Linked DNA regions of Homo sapiens: regions 1 and 3 are each linked to region 2. Evidence: promoter capture Hi-C in 16 types of primary human blood cells and fetal thymus (Javierre and others, 2016). All regions are on one chromosome and are shown on one strand. Each heading gives the region's core, a stretch centred on a gene start or on the middle of the fragment in contact. The rest is flanking DNA. Distances are from core to core; before and after follow the strand shown.

The links. The method cuts DNA at HindIII sites, captures the fragments that hold promoters and counts their contacts. A CHiCAGO score of 5 or more calls a contact.
Region 1: a fragment that was not itself captured here is called in contact with the fragment with the promoter of PCDHA2 in region 2 in 6 of 17 cell types (M2 macrophages, M0 macrophages, M1 macrophages and 3 more); the score reaches 18.7 in M2 macrophages.
Region 3: a contact is called between a fragment that was not itself captured here and the fragment with the promoter of PCDHA2 in region 2, in 6 of 17 cell types (M1 macrophages, erythroblasts, M2 macrophages and 3 more). The highest score is 13.8, in M1 macrophages.

What each region holds. Positions count from the first base shown.
Region 1 is chr5:141,314,310-141,318,237 of GRCh38, forward strand. No RefSeq gene overlaps it. Among named protein-coding and RNA genes, the nearest start is that of TAF7, 4.5 kb to the right of the region's middle. The HindIII fragment of the contact is 2,150 bases long and covers 323-2,472 here.
Region 2 is chr5:140,792,227-140,796,381 of GRCh38, forward strand. PCDHA2 (protocadherin alpha 2) reads left to right here and starts at 2,626. Exons shown (of 4, transcript NM_018905.3): 1 at 2,626-4,155. The coding sequence starts at 2,739. All of the region lies in intron 1 of PCDHA1 (protocadherin alpha 1), which reads left to right. It also overlaps PCDHA@. The HindIII fragment of the contact is 8,329 bases long and covers 1-4,155 here.
Region 3 is chr5:141,334,487-141,338,754 of GRCh38, forward strand. The region is part of intron 1 of PCDHGA1 (protocadherin gamma subfamily A, 1); the gene reads left to right. It also overlaps PCDHG@. Among named protein-coding and RNA genes, the nearest start is that of PCDHGA2, 2.1 kb to the right of the region's middle. The HindIII fragment of the contact is 3,193 bases long and covers 1,132-4,268 here.

The DNA of each region.
Region 1 (3,928 bases), core at 148-2,647, 520 kb after region 2:
AACACATATATTAGAAAATAGTAGCAAAGAACCTTCCAACTTTTTAATGAAGACCACTGCACTTGACATAGCACCTGACATGATGAAACATCTAAATCACATGCTTCTTAAGAATTAGATTGAATGGCCAGATAGGGTTACCAGAGAAAATAAGGGTTGAGTTGGGCCTTCAGTGACAAAAAGCTATCCATGAGAATATCTGGTGACTATTCCAAGAAAAGAGAACTGTAAGTGCTAAACTGTAGGAGGAAAGAGCTGAGTAAATTTGTTTATGCTGCAGATAAATTTGAAGCAAACCGTTTCTGCTGTAACCTAATTTATAAGCTTTCATTTAGAATTTTTTTTCCCATCTGAATTTGGTTGAAACTGATCTCTAAAATTTCTTAAATTTGAAAACAATTACATTTAGAATAGTTGTTTCCCTATAAACACTTTTTCTAACATTTCAGTCACTCTTTAATTATTTAGTATCTGTTATGGTCCATACCTTAATGGGTTGTAATAGTGGTAAATTTACTTCTGTTGTTTACTTACTATGTTCCAGGCATTGTTCTAAATAAGTCATTTATATGATTCAGCAGCCAGCAGCCAACAGCCCAATAACCCTATGAGGTAGGTAGTATTATTGCCTCCACTTTGGAGATGAGAAAATTGAGGTAAACAGATTGCTACCTGTGCAAGGTCACACAACTAATAGGTAACTGAGCTAGGATACGAACCATGCATGACATGTCTTGATGTTAAGATTTTGATCTTTCTACTATTCTTCAGTAAGTTTACAGTCACTAATGTAGCAAAATATCTCAGTAAATTTAAAGCCAAGCAGGAGATACGAACAAAGGTAATTTACACTTTAGTTATAACAGATACTCATCCCAGTAGACCGTGCAGTGCATGAGTTTATAGACACTAAATGCTTTGTTCATCACTGCATATCCAGTAGCTTGTAGTTTGGTGCGCGCGCACACACACACACACACACACACACACCCCTTGTAGTTTGGCACACACACACACAAAATGTTTGTCAAATAAATGAGAGAGGGAAGAACAAAGTGCAAAGCCGTAATAGGGTTGCTTAACCTAGAGGGAGAAAAGGGTCAGAAAAGCCTTGCTGAAGTCACTTAGGTTGAGACCTGAGGGTTAAGTAGGACTCAGACAAAGGGTAAAGTCATCTAGGTGGAGTGAACTGCTTGTTAAAAGGATCTATGGCCCAGGAGTGGGAGAATGAGTAAGCTCCTTGAAAAAAATGTAAGTTCAGAGTGGACTGACCATATACTGAATGCGGAGCTGAGGCTGAAAAGGTAAATGGAGAACTCATAATCTTGTGCATCTTTTTGAGAAATACAAACCTAGCCCTGAGAGCAATGAGATGTCACTGAAGGGTTTTCAGCATGGTAGTAACACAATCAAATATGTCTCAGAAAAATGAGTTTGGTGGCAGTGAAAACTAAATTGGATGGTAAAGAAGCTATTGCCATTTGATAGATAATAATAATGGCTTGAAATAGGACAGTGGCTGTAAGGATGAAGTAGAGTGAGTGAAGAACTTCTTAAGTAAAATCAAAAGTAGCAAGGGAAAGGGAGAAATGTAAAGTTATGGCTCTAGTGTCCAGCTTCCACAGTTGGGATGTGTGGTGGTGCCATTTATTTTTACTGGAACCCAGAAGGAAAAGCAAATTTTCAAGGAAGAGGAAAAGTTCCATTTTGAACCTGTATTTTTTTTTTTGAGATGGAGTTTTGTTCTGTTGCCCAGGCTGGAGCACAGTAGCATGATCTCGGCTCACTGCAACATCCACCTCCCAGGTTCAAGCTATTCTCCCACCTCACCCTCCCAAGTAGCTGGGATTACAGGTGCCCACCACCATGCCCAGCTAATTTGTTTTGTATTTTTAATAGAGATGGGTTTTGCCATGTTGGCCAGGCTGGTCTTGAACTCCTGACCTCAGGTGATCCACCTGCCTCAGCCTCCCAAGGTGTTGAGATATAGGCATGAGCCACTGCACCCGGCCATTTTGAACATTTACACTTGAGTTGCCTGAGAGATACTTTCAAGTATGTTTCTAGTACACATCTGGCTAAACTAAACCTGAAGCACAGAAGAATCAAGGTTGGAAACGTGGATTTTAGAATCCACTTAGAACTCATAACTGAAACAGGAATAGTGAGATCAATATACTATTTTGTTATTGTATCCAGAATCTTTCCTTTCTGTTATTGATGGAACTGCCACCATTGGTGTTGAGACCTTGGTAAGAATAAACTACTTGATAAATGATCCACTGTAAAGCCAGATATGGTGGGAGCTTTTCAGGTGTCAATCTTCTAAGTGTAGCAAAATACCTAGATTACAAAAACAGTAAATTTTGTCACCTAGCATCCTAAACTGTTTTTTTGTTGTTGTTTAATATATATTATTTGGAAACCTCAAGAAATAATATAAAACCTAGATATTGAGGGAAACCTTGCTTAAGCTTACATATTCTGTGCTAAAATCCTAGTCACGGCCAGGCACGGTGGCCCACGCCTGTAATCCCAGCACTTTGGGAGGCCGAGGCGGGTGGATCACAAGGTCAAGAGATCAAGACCATCCTGGCCAACATGGTGAAACCCCGTCTCTACTAAAATTACAAAAATTAGCTGGGCTTGGTGGCACATGCCTGTAGTCCCAGCTACTCCAGAGGCTGAGGCAGGAGAATCGCTTGAACCCAGGAGGCAGAGGTTGCAATGAGCCAAGATAACGCCACTGCACTCCAGCCTGGCAACACAGCAAGACTCCATCTAAAAAAAAAAAAAAAACTTACTCATAAAAACGTTTCACTTAAAAAGATAAATTAGCCTTCTGAAGTCTGCAAATGTCAGCATATTTAATTATAGACCTGAGGACTAGGTAACTTTTTTTTTTTTTTTAACATTTCAATACTGTTTCTTGTCAGATAGAAGTAAAATGGACTTTAGGCCGGGTGTGGTAGCTCAGGCCTGTAATCCCACCACTTTGGGAGTCCAGGGTGGGCAGATCACCTGAGGTCATGAGTTCAAGACCAGCCTGACCAACATGGTGAAACCCTGTCTCTACTAAAACTACAAAATTAGCCAGGTGTGGTGGCACATGCCTGTAATCCCGGCTACTCGGGAGGCTGAGGCAGGAAAATCGCTTGAACCCAGGAGGCAGAGGCTGCAGTGAGCCGAGATCACACCACTGCACTCCAGCCTGGGCAACAATAGCAAAACTTTGTCTTAAAAAAAAAAAAAAAGAGGCCGGGCGCGCTGGCTCATGCCTGTAATCCCAACACTCTGGGAGGCCAAGGCGGGCAGATCATGAGGTCAGGAGATCAAGATCATCCTGGCTAACACAGTGAAACCCCGTCTCTACTAAAAATACACAAAAAAATTAGCTGGGCATGGTGGCGGGCACCTGAGTAGTCCCAGCTACTCAGGAGGCTGAGGCAGGAGAATGGTGTGAACCCAGGAGGCGGGGCTTGCAGTGAGCCGAGATGGTGCCACTGCACTCCAGCCTGGGTGACACAGCGAGACTCCGTCTCAAAAAAAAAAACTTTAAATATTTTCAAACCCAAGCTTCTCATAAACCAACCTGTCAAACAAATTGCATACAACTCTGCCTCTTTTATCAGTAACTGATTTTTCAAAAATAGCTTATGTTGTGAGGCATTAGATTATCTTTAGAGCATGAGAAATTTGGTACCAACTTCCTTTATGAGCAATTTTGATGAAATGACATTGATAAATGACCTCAGTTCTCAGAATATTAATTATAGGAACTCAACTGAAGAAAATTAGAAATATTAATCCAAACCAATGGAATGGTTCATTGGACTGCACTTGATAACCACTGCTTTGTTTCCAACATTTTATGCAGGTAGATTTAGCGCTTTTTAAAAAAGGCACAAAGGCCTTCATCTACAAAAAT
Region 2 (4,155 bases), core at 1,376-3,875:
ATTTCCTTCTTTCCTGTGTTACTATATGCCTTCTCTTTTTCTGTCTTTTATAAGGGGCAACCATCATTGGATTTATGGCCTTCTGTAATCTAGGATGATCTCATATCAAGATCCTCATCTTTGTTACATCTGCAAAGACCTTTATTCCAAATAAGGTCACTTATTTAAACCTCAGAAAAGTGATGTCTTTTGGGGTATCTTTGACCCAAAACAGGTACCAAGAGATATCAAGTGCAGTGGGAGGAAGGATATTTGCTGAGCATGGCTTCTTAATCTCTTTTCCCCGTTGTGGGGGAAATGTACTTGCATATCTGGCAATAGTATTCTATCTCCGGGGGAAGGGGGAAATATTCCATATTCTCAGAAATCCTAAATAACAGCACAAAATGCCTCTTATACCCCCACATATGTCATTCTGAATATCCGGTATAATTAATTACCTTATATGATTGCAGAAATTGTCTCAAGCAAGCCATGTTTCCTGAAGCTAGCATCTGGATTCTAGGTATAATTCCTTCTATGTGTCAACAGTGGTCAATGTTGGCTATAGATTAAATAATAATTACTGGGTATCATACATATGCAATTGCTTTGCAACTACATAATGCTGTAACGAGCAGTTCTGAAGCTATCTGCCATCTGTTTAAGCTCCAGGAGAATTTGGGTACATGCCATGACCTCCACTTTTCAGTTCACATAAAAACCAACCTCCCACTTTTCAGTTCACATAATTTAGGTGGAGCTGATTTCATTTCCTGGCTTCAAGAATGAGCAAGTGGACCCATGTCTAGCCAATGTGAGAAAAATCACAATTATTGACTAAAGGAAATTTACATCATCCAAACTGGGCTGTAGGAAGTAATATCCAGGATTTTTGCTGGACTATTAGAAAAGAGCACTTTCTGGTAAGAGTCATCAAACTGGTAATTTTTAGTCTAGAAAGCTACTTTGGCCATTTTGCCAGCAGATGGGAAAAGTCTATCTGAGAAGAAGTTCAGCAGGGGAAAAGGAATTATAAATGTGGAGATTATTTTCCTTATGGAATTATGGAAGGGTGTAGACCCAGCTCTGTCTGAAACCAGTAATTAATTACCCATTTCCATGTATGAGTCAGTACAGGATTCTCTGGTTTATTTTTGCTTAAATCGGTTAACTTGGGATTTACTGTTAGAGTATGATTAACATAAATACACATTTCCATAGATGGTACAAATGAGTATCTTAAGATACTGTACATGAGGGAAAAAAATTGTTATTGGAAAAAAAGCTAGCTTTTCTTAACAAGAGCTTTGCTTTTCTCTTACGGACATTGCAAATTTTGCAATTAATTTTACTTCTCTCTTTGCTCTAGGAAGCTGAAAACAAAATTGGTGACATGGTTAGAGTAACTGAAGGTGACCCTTTATTATGGATTTTGTATGCTATCCCACTCCTTGATTCATTTTATTTCATCCTCATCTTATCTTTATTCTATTTTCATTTTTTTACTGTGAAGGGATCAGCTAAAAATTAACAAAAGAAGATATTCTCAAGTAATTAACACAAAAAAAGAGATCGATTGTATTGTTCTTGCATAAAAGTCTAAATGTAATGGAAAAGGAATATTCTAAAGTAATAGTACATTATCCAAATGAGAAACAAATAAATTATTAATTTCAAAACATTTGCAAACAATTCAAAAATCAAAATTAAATCACAAAACAACAGTATATATACACATATATTTTCAATGGACTAAAATACCTTTGATTACTATGTTCTTCATTTGAAGAAATAGTGAAAAATGCTAATATATCCAAAAGAATTGAAAGCAGGGTCTCAAAGAAATATATGCACACCCATGTTCATGGCAGCACTGTTCACAACAGTCAAGAAATGGAAGCAACTCAAATGTCCACGAATACTTGAATGAATAAACAAAACGTGGTGTATACATATGTTGGACTATTATTCAGCCTTAAAAAGGAAAGAAGTCCTGTCACATGTTACAATATGGATGAACCTTGAGGAACCATCCACGGATGCTTGAATGAATAAACAAAACGTGGTGTATACATACGATGGACTAGTATTCAGCCTTAAAAAGGAAATAAATCTTGTCACATGCTACAACATGGATGAACCTTGAGGACATTGTGCTAAGTGAAATAGGCCAGTCACAAAAAGACAAATACTTTACGAGTCCACTTACACGAAATATCTAAAGTAGTGAAATTCATAGAAATAGAAAATAGGACTGTGGTTACCAGAGACTGGAGTGACGGTGAAAAGCGGAGTTGTTGTCTAATGGGTATAGAGTTTCTGTTTTCCAAGATGAAAAATTTGTAACAATGTGAATATACTTAACATTACTGAAATGTACATTTAATCATAGTTAATATGGTAATTTTAAATATTATGTTGTGTGTTTTTTAACCAGAGTAAAAAAGGGTAAAAAGGTAATATATTTTAGGGCTTAAAATAGTTATTTTTTTCCAAGATGAAAGCTATGAGTAAACTTAAACCAGAAAATCGACTAGTTTTAAATCTACAGAATAAACAGTAGAGCCTTCCTTTTAGCCACATGATGTCGCTGTCCACCATAGAGTGTTCTCTAGGAAGGAAAATACCCAGAGCCCCTTTGTTACTTCAGAGAAGCGGAGGAATAAGAGAAGCAGCAGGACTTTAACAGAGACTAGAATATTTAAATTTTTGCAAAACATGCTCTTCTAATTTGATCAAAACATTGAGGATTGGTAATGGCGTCTTCTATCAGAAGGGGCCGAGGGGCCTGGACACGGCTGCTCTCGCTTCTGCTCCTCGCAGCCTGGGAGGTGGGGAGCGGCCAGCTCCGCTACTCCGTCCCCGAGGAGGCCAAACACGGCACCTTCGTGGGCCGCATCGCGCAGGACCTGGGGCTGGAGCTGGAGGAGCTGGTGCCGCGCCTGTTCCGGGTGGCGTCCAAAAGACACGGGGACCTTCTGGAGGTAAATCTGCAGAATGGCATTTTGTTTGTGAATTCTCGGATCGACCGGGAGGAGCTGTGCGGGCGGAGCGCGGAATGTAGCATCCACGTGGAGGTGATCGTGGACAGGCCGCTGCAGGTTTTCCATGTGGAAGTGGAGGTGAAGGACATTAACGACAACCCGCCAATATTTCCAATGACAGTAAAGACTATCCGGTTTCCCGAATCAAGGCTGCTTGATTCTCGGTTTCCTCTAGAGGGAGCATCTGATGCAGATATAGGAGTAAATGCTCTTCTCTCCTACAAGCTCAGCTCCAGTGAGTTTTTCTTCCTAGATATACAGGCAAATGATGAACTAAGCGAATCTTTGTCTCTCGTGCTGGGGAAATCGCTGGACAGAGAGGAAACTGCTGAGGTTAATTTGTTACTGGTGGCTACTGATGGGGGCAAACCTGAGCTCACGGGCACCGTTCAAATACTTATTAAGGTATTAGATGTAAATGACAATGAACCAACTTTTGCCCAATCAGTTTACAAAGTAAAATTGTTAGAGAATACGGCAAATGGGACCTTAGTGGTTAAGTTAAACGCTTCTGATGCAGATGAAGGACCGAACAGCGAGATTGTGTATTCACTCGGTAGTGATGTGTCCTCCACTATACAGACTAAGTTTACCATAGATCCCATCTCAGGGGAAATCAGAACTAAGGGAAAATTAGATTATGAAGAAGCAAAGTCCTACGAGATTCAGGTCACTGCAACTGACAAAGGAACCCCTTCAATGTCAGGACATTGTAAAATTTCATTAAAACTTGTGGACATCAATGATAACACACCAGAAGTCTCAATAACGTCTCTCTCACTTCCCATCTCAGAGAACGCTTCCCTGGGCACTGTCATTGCTCTCATCACGGTGTCGGATCGCGACTCTGGTACGAATGGACATGTCACCTGCTCCCTGACGCCCCACGTCCCTTTCAAGCTGGTGTCCACCTTCAAGAATTACTACTCGTTGGTGCTGGACAGCGCCCTGGACCGCGAGAGCGTGTCAGCCTATGAGCTGGTGGTGACCGCACGGGACGGGGGCTCGCCTTCACTGTGGGCCACCACCAGCGTGTCCATCGAGGTGGCCGACGTGAACGACAACGCGCCGGCGTTCGCACAGCCTGAGTACACAGTATTCGTGAAGGAGAACAACCCGCCGGGCTGCC
Region 3 (4,268 bases), core at 1,478-3,977, 540 kb after region 2:
GGCGGGGCGGGGCAGGAGCTGACGTGGGAGGATCCCTTGAGCCCAGGAAGTCAAGGCTTCAGCGAACCGTGATCGCGCCACTGCCCTCCAGCCTGGGCGACAGAGCCACACCCTGTTAAATAAATAAATATAATAATAAAAGCTGTTTCCCAATTCCGGTGGTTATAACTTTCTTCGTAAGCTGTGTAGACCAAGAGAGAGAGACAGACACGGATGCTGGATAGAGACAGCGAACACCAAGTATCTCATATGTGAGCTGTGGTATCCAGAATATCACTGCTGTGCATCATTAAAGCGTCATTAAGAGACCTAGTTATGGCCTGGGACCTGAGGTCAGATAGAAACTATTTCAAAACCATTACAAATGAGCACTGAACCCAGGAGGGAAGGAGAGAGGGATATAGTGTAGAAGAGAAAAAAACAAACTAAAACTAAAAACAAACAGAGCTCTTCCACTAAAAATAAATATACAAACCAAAATTTCAAAACACACTTGTCTCGTAGAATTTATTGTTACTAGTGAGAAACTTTCTGTCAACACACTGTTATTTTTTAAGGTAATCTCTGTTTTCTCTCTGGTAACTATTGAAGACTTTCTCTCATTCTTGCTGTGTGTCTGTTGCATTTTTATTTTTATTTTTTGCTTGGTACCAAGAGTATACTCTCAATTGATAACTAAGTTATCTCACTTCTGGACTTTCTCAGCTCTTATAATCATAATTTTTTTTCTGTGTATATACAAGTGAGCTACATTTACCTATTAAAGGACAAATATTACAAAACTGGTTGATTTTTAAAATCCATATTCTAATAATACACGTGCTTAAAATAAAAATACACTGAAACAGTGAAACTAAATATATATGTACACACACAAAAAAGAAAGTCATGTTAATGTAACAACAAAGTCATATTTAAGGTAACAAACACAAATTGTGATTTTAAAAAATGAACTGATTATAGTTGTAAAAAGAGCAGATGATCAAAAGGATATAAAAATATAAGCTTCTATTACTGAAAAATATAGCTTAGAAAATACCGGAATATTTAAACATAATTCCATAAGAAATAATAGACCCCACAGGAAGAAAGTTAGTTAACATAAAGAAGATTTGAACAACATAATTTAGAAGCTTGATCTATTAGGATTCTAATAGATCCGTTCTGCACACAACAAATATGGAATAGTCATCCTTGAACAAGCAGACAATCTACAAGTTTATTACCTAGTCATTACAAAAAAGGGTTCAGCAAATTGCAAAGTACCAATAATATACTTGCCTTACAACACATACTTAATCACAAAGCAAACATTTAAAAATAGAAAAGGGAAAAAGTTTGGATATTTACATCTACACCCTTAAATAACTCTTGGATTTCAAAAATCACAATGACAATGAAAACTACTCAGAAAAAAAGGACTTAAATATTCTTTATTAAAAATTGTGAGATGCAACTAAAACTAATTAGGAGTAAGTTTATAGACAAATGCAATAATTTTTTTAAAAGCAAACAAAATTATTTAAAATACATGAATTTAGCTTGCCATTCAAGAAGTAAGATAAAAAACATACAATGAGTATATACTAAAATAAAATGATGGAAAAAATAACAAAGAGTTACATTTTTGAAATGCAACCATGGAAGAGTTCTGAGGATGAAATAATGGAAGCAGACAATAAATGTAATAAAACCAGTGGGGAGAAAATGAAAATTCTGTCAAGTCTAACGTTAGGACTCATGTAAGAGAGCCAGGCACAATGGCACACCTATAATCCCAGGTACTGAGTAGGCTGAGGCAGTAGGATTGCTTGAGCCCAGGAGTTTGAATCCAGCCGGGGCAGTATAACAAGACCCAATCTCTATAAAACAAAAAAACACAAACACAAACACAAAAATAAAAATAAAAAACAAAAGCAAAATATACCATAGTAGCTCTACAAGAAAACATGGTGAGTTGGTATCAATTATTTCCAATATATTTTTCTTCAGTCTTGTAAGAGGAATGGATGAAAGTAAAAATGAGAAAATTTCAATAAGGAAGGAGCCAAAAGGCAAACAGATTAAAGTGTCACCAGAAATGGGCAATTCCACTTATGCCACATACAAAAATTAATTCAAAATGGATCAAAGAAGCAATATTCAGAAGCAATAAAACCCTTTTAGTTATTATGTTTAAGAACTAAAACTATACAACTCTTAGAAGAAAACAGGAGGAAACCTTCATAACATTGATTTTTGGCAATGATTTCTTGGATATGACACCAAAAGCACAAGCAACAAAAGAAAAAAATTGTATACTGGACTTTATCACAGTTAAAAACTATATGCAGCAAAGAACAATATCAATAGAGTGAAAAGGCAGCCCACAGAAAGAGAGAAAATGTTTCCAAATCATGTATCTGAGAATGGATATCCAGAATAAAGAACTCGAACTCAACAACAAAGAATCCCAAACAATTGGATGTTAAAATGAGCAAAGGACTTGAATAGACATTTCTCCAAAGATGATATACAAATGGCCAAAACCATATGAAACAATGTTCAACATCACTAGTCATTAGGGAAATGCAAATCAAAACCATAATGAGATACTACTCCACATTCATTAGAATTGCTGTCATAAAAGAAAAGAAAAGAAATGTTAACAAGAATATGGAGAAATTGGAATTCTTGTGCATTGCTGGTGAATATAAAATGACACAACTGCTGTGGAAAATGGTATGGTGACTCCTCAAAAATTTAAACATAGAATTACCATATAATCCAGCAATTCCACTCTGGTTATTACCCAAAAGAAGTGAAAATAGGGACTTCAACAGATATTTGTACACCTATGTTTATGGCATCATTAGTCACAATAGTTGAAAAGTGGAAGTAACCCAAGTGTCCATTGACAGATGAATGGGTAAATAAAAAGTGGTTCACACATACAATGGGCTGTTATTTAGCCTTAAAAAGGAAGGGAATTCTGTTACATGCTACAATATGGACGAACTTCAAAGACATGATATCAAGTGAAATAAACCTGTTATAAAATGACAAATACTGTATGATTCCTCATATATGAAGTTCCTAGATTAGTCAAATTCATAGAGAAAAAAGGTAGAATGGTAGTTGCCAGGGACTGGGTGAAAGGCAATGGGGAGTTGCTATTTAATAAGTACAGAGTTTCAGTTGGGGAGGATGAAAAAGTTCTGGAAGTGGATGGTGGTAATGGTCACACCAGAATGTAATTTGAATGTACTTAATGTCACAGAATTGTATGCTTGACTATGGTCAAAATGGTAAAGATGAAACAAGAGTAAGAAGACATCCACTGCATTGTATTTTACACCCTTGGAAAATGAATATCAGAAAAAGAACTTGACAACCTCAAACAATTTTGAGTGACTGATTCCTAGTGTGGTGAAAAACCCCTTCCGGCTCTAGCTTTATCAAATAGACCTGCTTTCTGTTTCTGTAATGTTCCATGCTGTCTCTTACCTTCAAGCATTTGTTCAGAGGTTCTAGAACACTTCTTCAGCCTTTTTCTTGATTCAATCCTACTTTTTATGATTCAGCTTCAATCATGCCCTCAAAAAGACTTTTCTGACCCCAAATCTAGACTGGATACCCCTCCTAGGTATTCCTCCATCACCCAGTGTTTCCTACCTCATATCACAGCAGTTACCATACTCTATTATACTCTCTTTACTTTCTTATGTCCTCCTCCAACCTTCACGCTTGAGACCAGGGCCTGTGTTTATCATGTTCACCATTTCTAGCTCCAGCTGCAATCATGCAAAGTGGGAGGCACATGTACCCAATTAAGTGTCTGATGATTCAATAATTTAAAGGCAGATTTTGAAGGTAAATGCAAAGCCATCAACCATAAACGTTCAAAATATATAACCTTAGAAGAAAACGTAGCTAACGTTTCTTAATTGATCTTACTGCTTCTGATTATACAATAAGAGATGGAAGATGTTTGGAGCAAGGGCAGTGGTGGCATTGATTAATGCCTTGAGCAGTCAATAATACTTTCCTAGCAACTATTATCAAGATCATGTTCATTTATACCATTCTTATTAATCCTGATAAAAAGATTCCTGTTTTGAAAGATCTAATTCTAGGGTATCTTAGAGCTGTAAGATTCTTTAAAGCGCCTTGAAAGTCAACAAAGGCAAACAAACAAGAAGTAACTTAGGTTTTCCTGAGCAGGTGCAGAAATTATTTAGGCCTCTGAGCGTCGCTGTTGACCACCTAAGGAGTAAAAGGCAGCGAGA